Linked DNA regions of Homo sapiens: all the other regions are linked to region 2. Evidence: promoter capture Hi-C in human tissues and cell types (Jung and others, 2019). All regions are on one chromosome and are shown on one strand. Each heading gives the region's core, a stretch centred on a gene start or on the middle of the fragment in contact. The rest is flanking DNA. Distances are from core to core; before and after follow the strand shown. Region 1 holds the start of PVALB (parvalbumin). Region 2 holds the start of MFNG (MFNG O-fucosylpeptide 3-beta-N-acetylglucosaminyltransferase). Region 3 holds the start of EIF3D (eukaryotic translation initiation factor 3 subunit D). Region 4 holds the start of NCF4 (neutrophil cytosolic factor 4).

What was found. The method cuts DNA at HindIII sites, captures the fragments that hold promoters and counts their contacts. A contact is called where the count stands out against the background at its distance.
Region 1: the fragment with the promoter of PVALB here is called in contact with the fragment with the promoter of MFNG in region 2 in 2 of the 25 tissues and cell types used here (dorsolateral prefrontal cortex and spleen).
Region 3: a contact is called between the fragment with the promoter of EIF3D here and the fragment with the promoter of MFNG in region 2, in 2 of the 25 tissues and cell types used here (lymphoblastoid cells and mesendoderm cells).
Region 4: a contact is called between the fragment with the promoter of NCF4 here and the fragment with the promoter of MFNG in region 2, in 1 of the 25 tissues and cell types used here (spleen).

Annotation. Positions count from the first base shown.
Region 1 is chr22:36,815,770-36,818,469 of GRCh38, forward strand. It overlaps PVALB (parvalbumin), which reads right to left and starts at 1,266. Exons shown (of 4, transcript NM_001315532.2): 1 at 1,176-1,266. The coding sequence starts at 1,236. The HindIII fragment of the contact is 41,984 bases long and covers 1-2,700 here.
Region 2 is chr22:37,485,007-37,487,744 of GRCh38, forward strand. MFNG (MFNG O-fucosylpeptide 3-beta-N-acetylglucosaminyltransferase) reads right to left here and starts at 1,378. Exons shown (of 8, transcript NM_002405.4): 1 at 917-1,378. The coding sequence starts at 1,171. RefSeq lists enhancers at 263-322, 723-772, 1,249-1,758, 1,759-2,270, 2,271-2,738 and a silencer at 1,343-1,472. The HindIII fragment of the contact is 15,221 bases long and covers 1-2,738 here.
Region 3 is chr22:36,527,747-36,530,446 of GRCh38, forward strand. It overlaps EIF3D (eukaryotic translation initiation factor 3 subunit D), which reads right to left and starts at 1,420. Exons shown (of 15, transcript NM_003753.4): 1 at 1,330-1,420. RefSeq lists enhancers at 931-980, 1,291-1,690. The HindIII fragment of the contact is 12,569 bases long and covers 1-2,700 here.
Region 4 is chr22:36,859,556-36,862,255 of GRCh38, forward strand. NCF4 (neutrophil cytosolic factor 4) reads left to right here and starts at 1,451. Exons shown (of 10, transcript NM_000631.5): 1 at 1,451-1,648. The coding sequence starts at 1,617. The region is part of intron 1 of NCF4-AS1 (NCF4 antisense RNA 1); the gene reads right to left. The HindIII fragment of the contact is 13,239 bases long and covers 1-2,700 here.

The DNA.
Region 1 (2,700 bases), core at 16-2,515, 670 kb before region 2:
CTCTGCGCAGAAATCCACTTCGGAGGCAGTGGGAAGGGGGTGTTAGGAGGCTCCCGAGAAACACCCAGTTAAGTTTCTTCCCACATGGGCTTGAGGTGAAGGGAGAGGGTTATCCCAGGACCCTGGGAGGGTGGCTTCCCAGAGAGGTTCTTGTGCCCAGGGGAGGGGGTGCAAAGCAGAAAGGAAATGGGGGTCCTTTTCTACCTGCAATTTTCTGTATCTTGGGGTCCTGTTTTAGAACACCTGGGGAAGGGTACAATGTTAGATCATGTATTTTGTGTGTGTGTGTGTGTGTGTGTGTGTGTAGGGAATGGCTGTTGAAGTCATGTTCTCTTCCCCTCAGCACAGGGCTAGAGACAAGGAAAGTTGCCCTGTCCACCTCCGACACTAGGCTGGGCAACCCAGTTCTAATACCCCTTCTGCCCAGCTAGGTGACCTTGGGCAAATGTCTTGTCCTCTCCAAGACAGTTCCCTGATTTCCCCATCTGGAGGACAGGGGAGGAGGAAGGCGGGCAGCTTAGCGCTGAAGTCCCGGGCAGCTGGGAGAGGTGAGACTGCCAGTTCCCCTCCCCTGCCCGCCTAAGGAGGCTGGAGGTTTGAGGCACTGAGGATGCCCCGTGCGGGCTTAGGCAGAGCTGTGCGCCGGCTCCAGAAGGTCACCTCGCCCGCAGGTCCGTTGCTGAATCTCAGTAAAGGAACTAGGACAGTCAGGGGGCCAACAAAGGCTACCGCCTGGCGGGAAAAGTCCTGTCCAGAATGAGGGTCCAGGAAAGGGGTCTCTTGGAGAGGAGGATGCCCCCTGCAGTCCCCTCTAAGTGCCTTAAAGAGGACGTCCAGAGAGCTCGTACAAGGACCCTGGAGGTCTCTCCTCCGACCCTGGTCTTCGCCCTTGGTCCCGGACCCTGAGTCCTCCCAGCCACCGGGCCTTCAGCACCCTCAAGTTTCTGTAACTTAGGCGGGGCGCCCTCTTCCCCGCCCGCTCCCCGCGCCAAGCCTCGCCCGGACAGAGTTTGGGAACTGCCAAGGACGCCCCCGCCCCGACCTCGCCGGCGCCCAGCGGGAAGTGTGGGCAGAAGCGCGCTGGGGAGGATCCGCCGGCTGCGGGGCCGGCGGAGTGCAGGGGCGCGGGCGGTGGACGAGGGGAGAGGGATGGGGAGGGGAGCGCGCTTGCTCACCGCTAAAGGCTCCCACCGCCTTCTTGATGTCCTCAGCGTTCAGCAAGTCTGTCATCGACATCCTGCAACTGTTTGAGCGGGCAGAGCAAGTGCGAAAAGATTAAAAAGTGCTTTTCTCATCATTTCTGCTCATATGACCAGCGCTGCAGTGCTGCGCGCCGGGCGCACGCCCGCCGGGCCTGGCATGGCGCCAGGGGCCCGGACTCTGAGCGCAGCGGGAGCGGCTCAGTCCAGCCGCGCCGCTGAGCAGCGCCGGCCGCCGGCAAGAAGGCGCGCGGACCTGCTACCACTCCTGCACCGCCAGGCCAGGGGTCCGCGGGATCCCAGGGGCTGCGGCCAGGGCACGAGGGAAGGGGCCACCTCTGGGATTTAGGGGGCACTGGCGTCACCAGCTGGGTCTGGAAAGTCCACCTGCCGTCAAGGACACGCAGGAGGTGCGCCGTCTCAGATCTGGGAACCTTGGCGGATGTCCTGCCGCGTGGGGGAAGATCCTGAACCTTCAGCGGCCAGCCTGCACCTCAGGACCTCCTAGGCCCTGCTCCCTTTCTCTCTCCACTCCTACCTCAGCCTCTGCTCTGGTCTGTCCTGGATGCAAATTTATGCTGCAAAATCTGAGCGCTGAGGTCCTGAAACCTGACCCACCCGACGCAGGGAGGAGGTGGCAGGGACAGGGACAGGGACAGGCAGGAGCTGCTGGGGCCCACTTCGGGTGCCCCATCCCACATCTGGCCAGGGATGCATATTCTAAAACCTGATTTGATGTTTTACTTTTATTTTTTATTTTTTTGCTGGCTTGATTTTTCGAAGAACACTTCTCAGATCTCTACTAACTACTTGCTTTCCTGGTCTCCTGGGTCCTGGCATCATGGGTCCAGACTCCCCCTACTCCTATAAACCTTTTTTGGGCAGAGTAGGGTGGGAGAGTCCGCTTGGAATTGCTATGCTCCCTCCCAGAAAGCCCCATATGTGTTTGGAAGAAGGGTAGCACCTTCAGACCACACTTTCTAGACAACCTAAGCAGGTGTAGGGGTCTGAACTTCACCTCTGGAAAAATGTCACGGTGCCTATCTGTATGCAGCCAGAGACCCGTTGTGTTCTTCCCCATGGTTCCCAAGGTTTCAAGCTGCAACCAGCTGCTTCTAGAGTGTGTGAGCGCTGGACAGGGAGTCAGGAGGCCTGGGTTCTAGATCCTGGGCTGCACTAAGTCCCAGTGTGACCTTGGGTTGTGACCTTCTCTGGGCTTCTGTCTCCTTCTGATGTGTTGATGACGTCAGTGGTCCCATGTAGTGGGACCTGGGGACTGCAACTTAAGGTATTGGCAGGTAGGCAGGGCCTTGGGCTGTGGTGGCCCTGGGTGGTGGGGACCAGGGAGAGCAGCTGTCCAGCTGCCCAGTAACTCAAGTTCCCTGACATCGCTGTCAACATTGTCTCCTGCAGCTCAGCCCTGGATGGCTGCCCTTCCTGGAAACCTTAGGATACCTCTGCTGGCTCCAGCTGCCCCCTCCCTGTGAGTCAGCTCCTTCAA
Region 2 (2,738 bases), core at 128-2,627:
TCCACCTCCCCCATCAACGGTCCCTAACACCGACATCACTAACTTTGCTTAAGGAAGATACTGGATGCGAGGAGGGAAAGGGCTGGAAGGGACTTGGCTCGCCGGAGCCGCACAGCCATGTGACAGACATGCCTCTTGTCACACACATCTAGCACACTCCAGCTCCGTGCGTGTGAGCACACACACACACACACACACAATCCCACGTGCCAGGCAGGCCTCCCCAACCTCCGGCCCACCACTGCCTCAGCCGCCACCCTCGTGGCATGCGCTCTCCTTCCCTCCCTCGGAAGCAGTCCGCAGGAAGCCAACACAGGAGGCCAGACATGGCGGCCTCGGCACACCCGGGGCAGCAGAGACACAGCGGCAGGGGCTATCGGGAAGGCCGAAGGGATGCCTCCCCCAAGAACAGACCCCACCATTCTCCTCCCGTCCTCCACCCTCAGAGCCCGGGCAGGACAGCACCTAGGGCCTGGGTGGGACAGCCTGGCCTGGGCACGGGTCTGGGTCAGGACCTCTTGGAGGCCTCCACCCCAGCTGCCCAACACCCACCATTACCCCTGATGCCAGGCTGGGCCTGGGTGGCTAGGAGCGAAGCCCCCACGGGAGCGGCTAGGAATAGAAGAACCCCCAGGAGGGACCCGGGAGCCTGGAGCAGGGGCCCAGCCTGGCCCCCAAAAGTGGTGGAGCGGTAGGACCTGGGTGCACCTGGAGTCAGGACCAGTACAGGGCACGGGCAGGGCCGCAGGCAGCCCCTAAAGCCCGGAAGAAGGAGAGAGGAAGAGGATCCCTGATTAGGCAGGTATTGAGCAGCTTCTCCCATGAGGCAGTCAGGGACCCCAGCCCAGTAGAAAGGCCTCTGAGAACCCCTTAGGCCAGGGGCCACCCCCAGGGCCCAATGTCACCCACTTGTCACCTGTTCCCTGGTCCTGGAAACCCACGTGTCAAGCAGCAGCTCCAGGCGCAAGCGGTGGAAAGCCCGGGTCGTCTTCACTGCAATGAAGACATCGTGTAGCTGTAGCTTAGGGGGCCCCGGGTTCGGCTGGCTCAGCTCGGGGGTCCCTTGTACCCGCTGCGGGGACAGGTTCAAGTGGTACCGCAGACACAGGAGCCCCATGCACAGGAGGGTGAGGAGGGCTCCAGCCAGGCCCCGCGGGAGCCGGCACTGCATTGGTTGGCCCTGGGACCCCAGACAGCTCAGCCCCCAAATCCCAACCAGACAGGGAGGGGAAGCTGGTCAGGCAGGGGCTCCAGCAGAGGCAAAAGTCTGGCAGGCATCAGGGGCTGGCAAGGAGGGAAGAGGTAGGAGCTGAGGCTCTGGACCCAGAGGCTGAGCCATGGCAGCACGATCTCGACCGCCGCCAGTCCTCCACCTGCTCCCGCTGTCCGGCCTGCCGCAGCCTCCGGGACCGCCTGGCCCCGCCCCGCTTAGCCCGAGGGGCGGGGCCAGACGAAGGGAACCCCAGACAGAGGCGGCTGAAAGGAGGCACCAGCAGAAAGGGCAGCCCCGGCTCTGCCAGCTGCTGCGGTGGGAGGAAGTCACAACAAACCCTCCGTGCCCGGTGGAAGGGAGTGTCCTCCAGCACCGTCCACTCCCCCAGAGAGCTGTCAGCTCGGCCCATTCAACACCCATTACTTTGGTGTCCTGCTTCACCCAGCCCCCAGCTTTTGCTCACAGGTTTCCTCCGGGATGCTCTCCCATATTCCACCAGCCTCACCCACATTCCCTCCACTAGGCTGAGTTCTATCTGGACTTCAAAGCTTAAGGGTTCCCTCCTCCAGGAAGCCTTCCGTGATAACCTCTTAACCTCTGGGGCTCCCACAGTTGTTCGCTCAGTTCCTGAGGTCTTCACAACAGCACTGGGACTGTCGTTCCCAGTTTATAGCTGAAGACATAAGGCACAAAGGCACAGAATGAGCAAAAACGATCCAGCAACTCAGCCGCAGAGCTGGCAGAACCCAGGTCTCTGTTCCTCATCTAGTTCACAGGAGGTCCCCTGAGGGCACCTGTCCAGCTGTGCCCCAGCCCATACCCGACCTCACTCCGCAGTCTCTGGAGCTGCCTCTCTCCCAGCACCTGACCAGTGGACAGACAGAGGGCCTTCTCCAGCCACCACCTCCATCTTGTTTCGCACAAGCTCACTCACACCTCCTCCCTCCTCCACTCAGAGCCTGCACTGGCTCCCATTTTCTTCAGAACAAAAGCCAAAACGCACACAGCAGCCCACAAGGCCCTGCGTGAGCTGGCTCCCAAGTTACTCCCACCCCATCTCCTGCTACTCACCCTGCTCCACTCCAGAACCTGGGACCCTCGCTGGCCCAGGCACCTGGCCGCCACAGGACCTTGGCACTTGCTGTTCCCACCTGGGCCCCTCCCTAGAGACCTGCACGTCTCACTCCCCCACTCCCTTCTGGTCTTTACACAAAGGTCACCGTCTCTGTGAGGCCTTCCCTGACCACGTTATTAACATTGCAACCCCTCGCCGCCTCCTTCCCAGCCCCCCAGGCCTGTCCCTCTCAAGCCACTTCACTGTTTTCTTCATCACACTTTTCATCTTCCAACATTCTGTATGTTTAACTAAGTTTCTGTCCTCCTCATGAGAATATCAGGGCAGGATTTATTTTTTGATCACTGAGTCCCTAATCCCCAGTGCCTAGAACAGTGACCGGCAGACAAGAACTCAATCAATGTTAATTCAACACAACAAAGTACCAGGTGGCTGGCAAAGGGAAGTGGC
Region 3 (2,700 bases), core at 170-2,669, 960 kb before region 2:
CAGTGAGCCAAGATCCTGCCATTACACTCCAGCCTGGGCAACAGAGCAAGACTCCGTCTCAAAAAAACAAAAATCAAATGTTTCTTGGAGGCTGGAGAGCAATCAAAAGAACAGGTATGCTGAACTTAGTAAACTCTCCTCAAAGCCCCATGCTGGGGAGATTGAGGCTTCCTTCAGAGATGACATTTGGGTGACAGCAACACAGGATGAACCTAGAAGTTTCATCTTTCTAATAGAAACTATAGGAAGAGGACAGAAGAAAAAGGGTGGTGGTCTCAGAACAATTTGTATTAAATAAATATTGCTGAGCTCCTACGTGTTAGGCCCTATACCAGATAATTTAACACCATTGACCACCCCCCCACCCCTACTTTAGAGGCAAAAATTTGAAGCTCAGCCTACTCAAGCAGCTGACCTCATCATTTCAAAACAGATTTGATTTCCAGGGTTGCCTGCTGTCAGTCCAGCCTTCTTTCCATTATATTACAGCTGGGCAGCAGCCCGCAAAGATCAGGGGTTTGAGACCGTACATCATAATACCAAGACAACGAGTCTCAAAACACACTTTAAAAAATCGGGTTCTGTCAGAAGCTCAAGAAGGGAAGAGGCCCGAGGCTCGACCTGCATCACCTCCCTGGAAAGCCAGGGATGAGATACCCTGGCTTTAATAAATGTTTTTTTTTTTAAGAGCAGAGCGGAACCAGGAGGAGAAACTGAGCCGCTCAGCAAAAACGAAGTAACAGCTGTACTAGTCACAGGGGCAGGATAGGGAGGTTCCAAGAGGGCACTCAGAAGGGGCTCTGTGGTTGGCAGGCCACTACAGATCATAAGCCGTCCATCGCTGAACAGGGGGTGGGGTAGATTTAAGATCAGAGATCAAATCTACTTCTCTATCCTAGCCTCCAGTTTCACAAAAAAGGAAAGATAACCTATGCACTGTGAATTCCTAAGAACAGGGGCCAAACACCGCTCAGCCTGGTACCCCTAAGACCTCACTCAAAAAGTCAGGGAGTTTTCGGCCACTTCAGAAAGACTTTGTTGTTACCCCTCCGTCTTAACCCAGGTGAGTTAAGTGACAATCAAATTCACCCAGCTCATGGGCACTGAGCAGGGCCGAGGGCCAAGGACCTCACCCACAAGGTCGTGTCCCGCGTTCAGTAGCGTGCGGGACGCGGGGCCCCCGAAAGTGGATTCCTGCCCCGCCCAGCGGAGGGACGGCAACAGCAGGAAGGGACTAAGAGAGGTCTCTTCCGGGAGGCCCCCCGAAGGCTGGACCTAGTCCGAACCGGCTCCGGAGGGCCGCAGGAACCTATGAAACACGCCGCTCACCTGCAATGGCCTCGGCCGGCCGGGATGGCAACAGATGGTGCGTGCCGGGGACCGCGTTAGCAGCAGCACTCTTGAGAAACCAGGAAAAGAGGAAACATGCGCGCGCAGCGGGCGCCGCCGTAAACACGACCGGCGCTGTCGTAAACTGCTCTCCCGCTTCCTCTGGGTTGGGCGGAAGAACTCACGAGCCGTAAAGCGAAGGTCCACCCGGAAATCCGTTACTGCGTTTCGCCAGGCGTCCTCATTAGCCTCCGAGGCGCCGAGACGCGAGAGGTGTGATTGGCACTACGTCAGGCGGTATCCGGGGACGCCCAAAGAGGGCGTTCATCACTGAAACTTGGCGGCCGCGCAATCGAAGCTCGAGGCGGGGAGCGACTGGCGCCCTTCTGTGTCCCACAATGCTTCGCGGCGCGCCTCAGCCCCCATGTATCCCACCGTCACCCGCGACTCCCCGCCTGTTCTACCTGCCTGCTTAATGTGAAACTCAGCGCAGGGGAGGTCCGTCGGTGTCTTAGGCGGTCCTTATTGTTACTCCTCCGCCTTTATAGTTGTGGAAACTGAGGCTCAGAAGTGCCAAGTGACCTGCCTAGATCAGACTGTTAGTTTAGGGTTCTAACCGCCAGAGTTCAAACCATACTTCCGCAGTTCTCAAACTTAATTGTAGGACAGGGATTTCTGGAACAGTGTTTTTATTTATTTTTATTTATTTTTTGAGACAGGGTTTCGCTCTGTCGCCCAGGCTGAAATGTAGTGGCAGGATCACGGCTTATTGCACCCTCGACTTCTCAGGTACAAGCGATCCTCCCAGTTCAGCCTCCCGAGTCGTTGGTGTACACAGGCACGCACAACCACGCCTGCCTAATTTTTGTATTTTTGGTAGAGATGGGGTTTTGCTATGTTGCTCAGGCTGGTCTCAAACTCCTGAGCTCAACAGTCCACCCACTGGGGCTAGGGTTACAGGCATGAGTCACCGTACCCGGCCAGCTAATGATTTTTAAAAATTTTGTAGAGACAGCGTCTCACTATGTTGCCCGGGCTGGTCTTTAACTCCTGGTCTAAAGTGGTCCTCTCGCCTCAGCGTGCGGAGCAGCTGAGGCTACAGGTGCATGCCACCATGCCTGGCTAATTTTTTTTTTTAGACGGAGTCTTGCTCTGTCTTCCAGGCTGGAGTGGAGTGCAGTGGCGCTATCTCAGTTCACTGCAACCTCCGCATCCCAGGTTCAGGTGATTCTCCTGCTTCAGTCTCCCGAGTAGCTGGGATTGCAGGCGTGTACCAACATGCCCGGCTAATTTTCCTTTTAGTAGAGACGGGGTTTCACCTTGCTGACCAGGCTGGTCTCGAACTCCTGACCTCAGGTGATCTACCCACCT
Region 4 (2,700 bases), core at 201-2,700, 630 kb before region 2:
GGCTGATGGCTGAGAAACTCTGTTCCCATAATCAGTTCTGACACCCACTTTACACTGAGAACTCAGATTTGACTTTCTGCTAACAGCAGGACCTGTGGCCTGTACCTAGTCCCAGATTTGGCATTAAAATCTCAGCCCAACAATGCATATCCAATCTTGGTTTTCCCATGGGCTGTTGGCCACGTTCCTCTCCCCCTGGTATAGATTCCTGACCCCTCTCTTTGATCCTACCTAAAAATTATGCTTTCTTGTTTTTTTTAGCTGGGACTTGTATGTTTAAAGTAGTTTAAAACAACTTTCTGCTCTGCATGTATGAATACGAGTGTGTGAGCGTGTGTAGCTGGCAGGGAGTTACTGGGTGTGGCTGTGCCAATGACTCCTGTGGACCTCTTCTCAGAGAAGTCCCTTCAGAATCAAATACCCATACCTGTTAGGAGCTGCAGTCACTGACTGGCAGCGTTTCATTCATTCACTGAATATTGGTTGAGCACTTGCAATGTGCCAGGCACGCTGCTAGCCAAGGAGGCAGTCATTAAACATACAGATAAACAAACAAATGTGAGATGACAATAGTTATGAGTGCTCTGCAGTAGACGTGCAGGGACCTGTGAGAGAATGTAGTAGGGAGGGCCTTAATTTAGGGTGTGTGGTCAGGGAAGGCCTCGCTAAAGATGTAGCTTCTAAGCTGAGATGCAAAGGAGGCAGTGAAGAGCTTTTTCCAGCAGAGGGAACACCATGAGCATAGGCCTTGGGGCGGACGTCTTAGAACATTCTAGAAACGGAAAGGAGGCCAGTGAGAAAAAGGGAGCTCAGGAGCAGAGGCTGGGGAAGGCTGCAGGGCCTCAGGGGCATTGGAGGCAGGCAGGGCAAGGACTCTGGACTTTATCCTGAGCACAGGGTGATGGGGCAGGAGAGTTTAAGCAGGGAGGGTGAAACTCACTCTGATTGGCAGCCCTGTGAAAGAGGATTGGCTGGGCATGGAGATCTAAGGATGAGGAAAGGATATCCCAGAGTGCCAGGGCGCGCAAACCAAACTTCACACTCTAGGAAGACAGAGGCCAGAGGAACCAGGAGGGCTTCCTGGAGGAGGTGGCATTTACTCTGGGCCTAAGAGATCACAGGAAAATGGAGGCCAGCATTCTAGGCCTGGGGAAGAGTTTGGGCAAAGGCTTGGCAGTAAGAGAATAAAGGTGGGGCTTGATGGGCCAGAGGATAAGTGACTCCTCAAGGTCACAAGACACCCTGATGGCTGGGACCCCATCTCTGATGGAGCAAGGCTTCTGATACCCAACTGAGGCTTGGCGCCAAGGACTGACATCAAGGAAGTGGATTCCTGCAAACCTGGCACCCGAGGGTCCACTTCCTCAATTTCTGTGCAGCTGGGAGGTGAGGTAAGAGGAAGTGTGGGCCACAGGCTAGGCCCAGAGAGCCTGGAGGAGGAGCCTCTGCCAGACTGGAGAGAAGCAGGCCTGAGCCTCCCCAAAGGCAGCTCCTGGGGACTCCCAGGACCACAGGCTGAGACGAGACGCAGGGTGGCTGGAGGAAGTGAGAGGTGAACTCAGCCTGGGACTGGCTGGGCGAGACTCTCCACCTGCTCCCTGGGACCATCGCCCACCATGGCTGTGGCCCAGCAGCTGCGGGCCGAGAGGTGAGTGCCGGGGTGTGGCCGCCCCCGGGCCTTCTCACTGCTCCTCATAGGCCTTAGGGACAAAGGCCAGTCCTTCTGCAGTCCCTGATCAACATGAGAGGCTGGGGTTGAGTCAGAACCCAAATACTCAGAAATGCAACCTCTCAGAACTGCTTTAACGAAACTTTGAGCTGTGGCTCACCACCCTCAGACACAAATGAGAACACTGAGGCTCCAAGAGTGGGAGTGACTTGCCCACGGTCACACAACGAGTGACCGGCAGTGTCTGGAGAGGAATGCAGGTGTCCTGGGTCCCAGGCTGGGGCCCTTTGCTTCACATGGTGATCAGCAATGACTTTCCATCTTCTGCGCAAACAGAATTCACAGAATCTGGCTTGTTCTTCCGCTAATCAGGGCTTGCCTCAAATGTCACCTCCTCCAAGAAGCCTTCCTGACAGCCCCTACCTCATTGCTGTCTGACCCTTTGCCCTATTTCCCTTTTCTGCCTGGTTCTTATATTACAGGAATAATATTATATGCTCATTTATTATTTTTTCTTGAACGTTGGCTCCCCCATGAGAAGCAAGCTCCACGAGGCTGTGTCCGTTTTGATCGCTGCTGTATCACTAGGAGGTAGCTCATCCCTATTGAGCACCAGGACCAAGGGCTCAATAAATGTTGCTGAATGAATGAATAAATGAATGAATGAATGGGTGGATCTTTGAGACGGAAAAGGTCTTAGATTCTTCTAGTCCAACCTTGCCATTGTACAGATTGGAAATCTGAGGCCCAGGGAGGATAAGAGACTTACTCAGGGTCACAGAGAGTGACTGGCAAGGTTGGGGCTTGGAGCACGGCCTCACCAGCATCTAGCCTCGTCGCTTGGGAAGCATTTTCAGAATTTTTCCTCAGTAGCCAGGTCTGAGCTCTAAGCTGCGGGGGCCCTGAGGACGCAAAGCCTGGCCCCTGCACCCCCTGGATTGGAACAGCAGGTGACCTCTGTTACCTACGTGGAGGCCACTCAGGGGGTCACCAGAGACAGGCCAGGCTGGTGTGTGCCTACGCGGGGAACA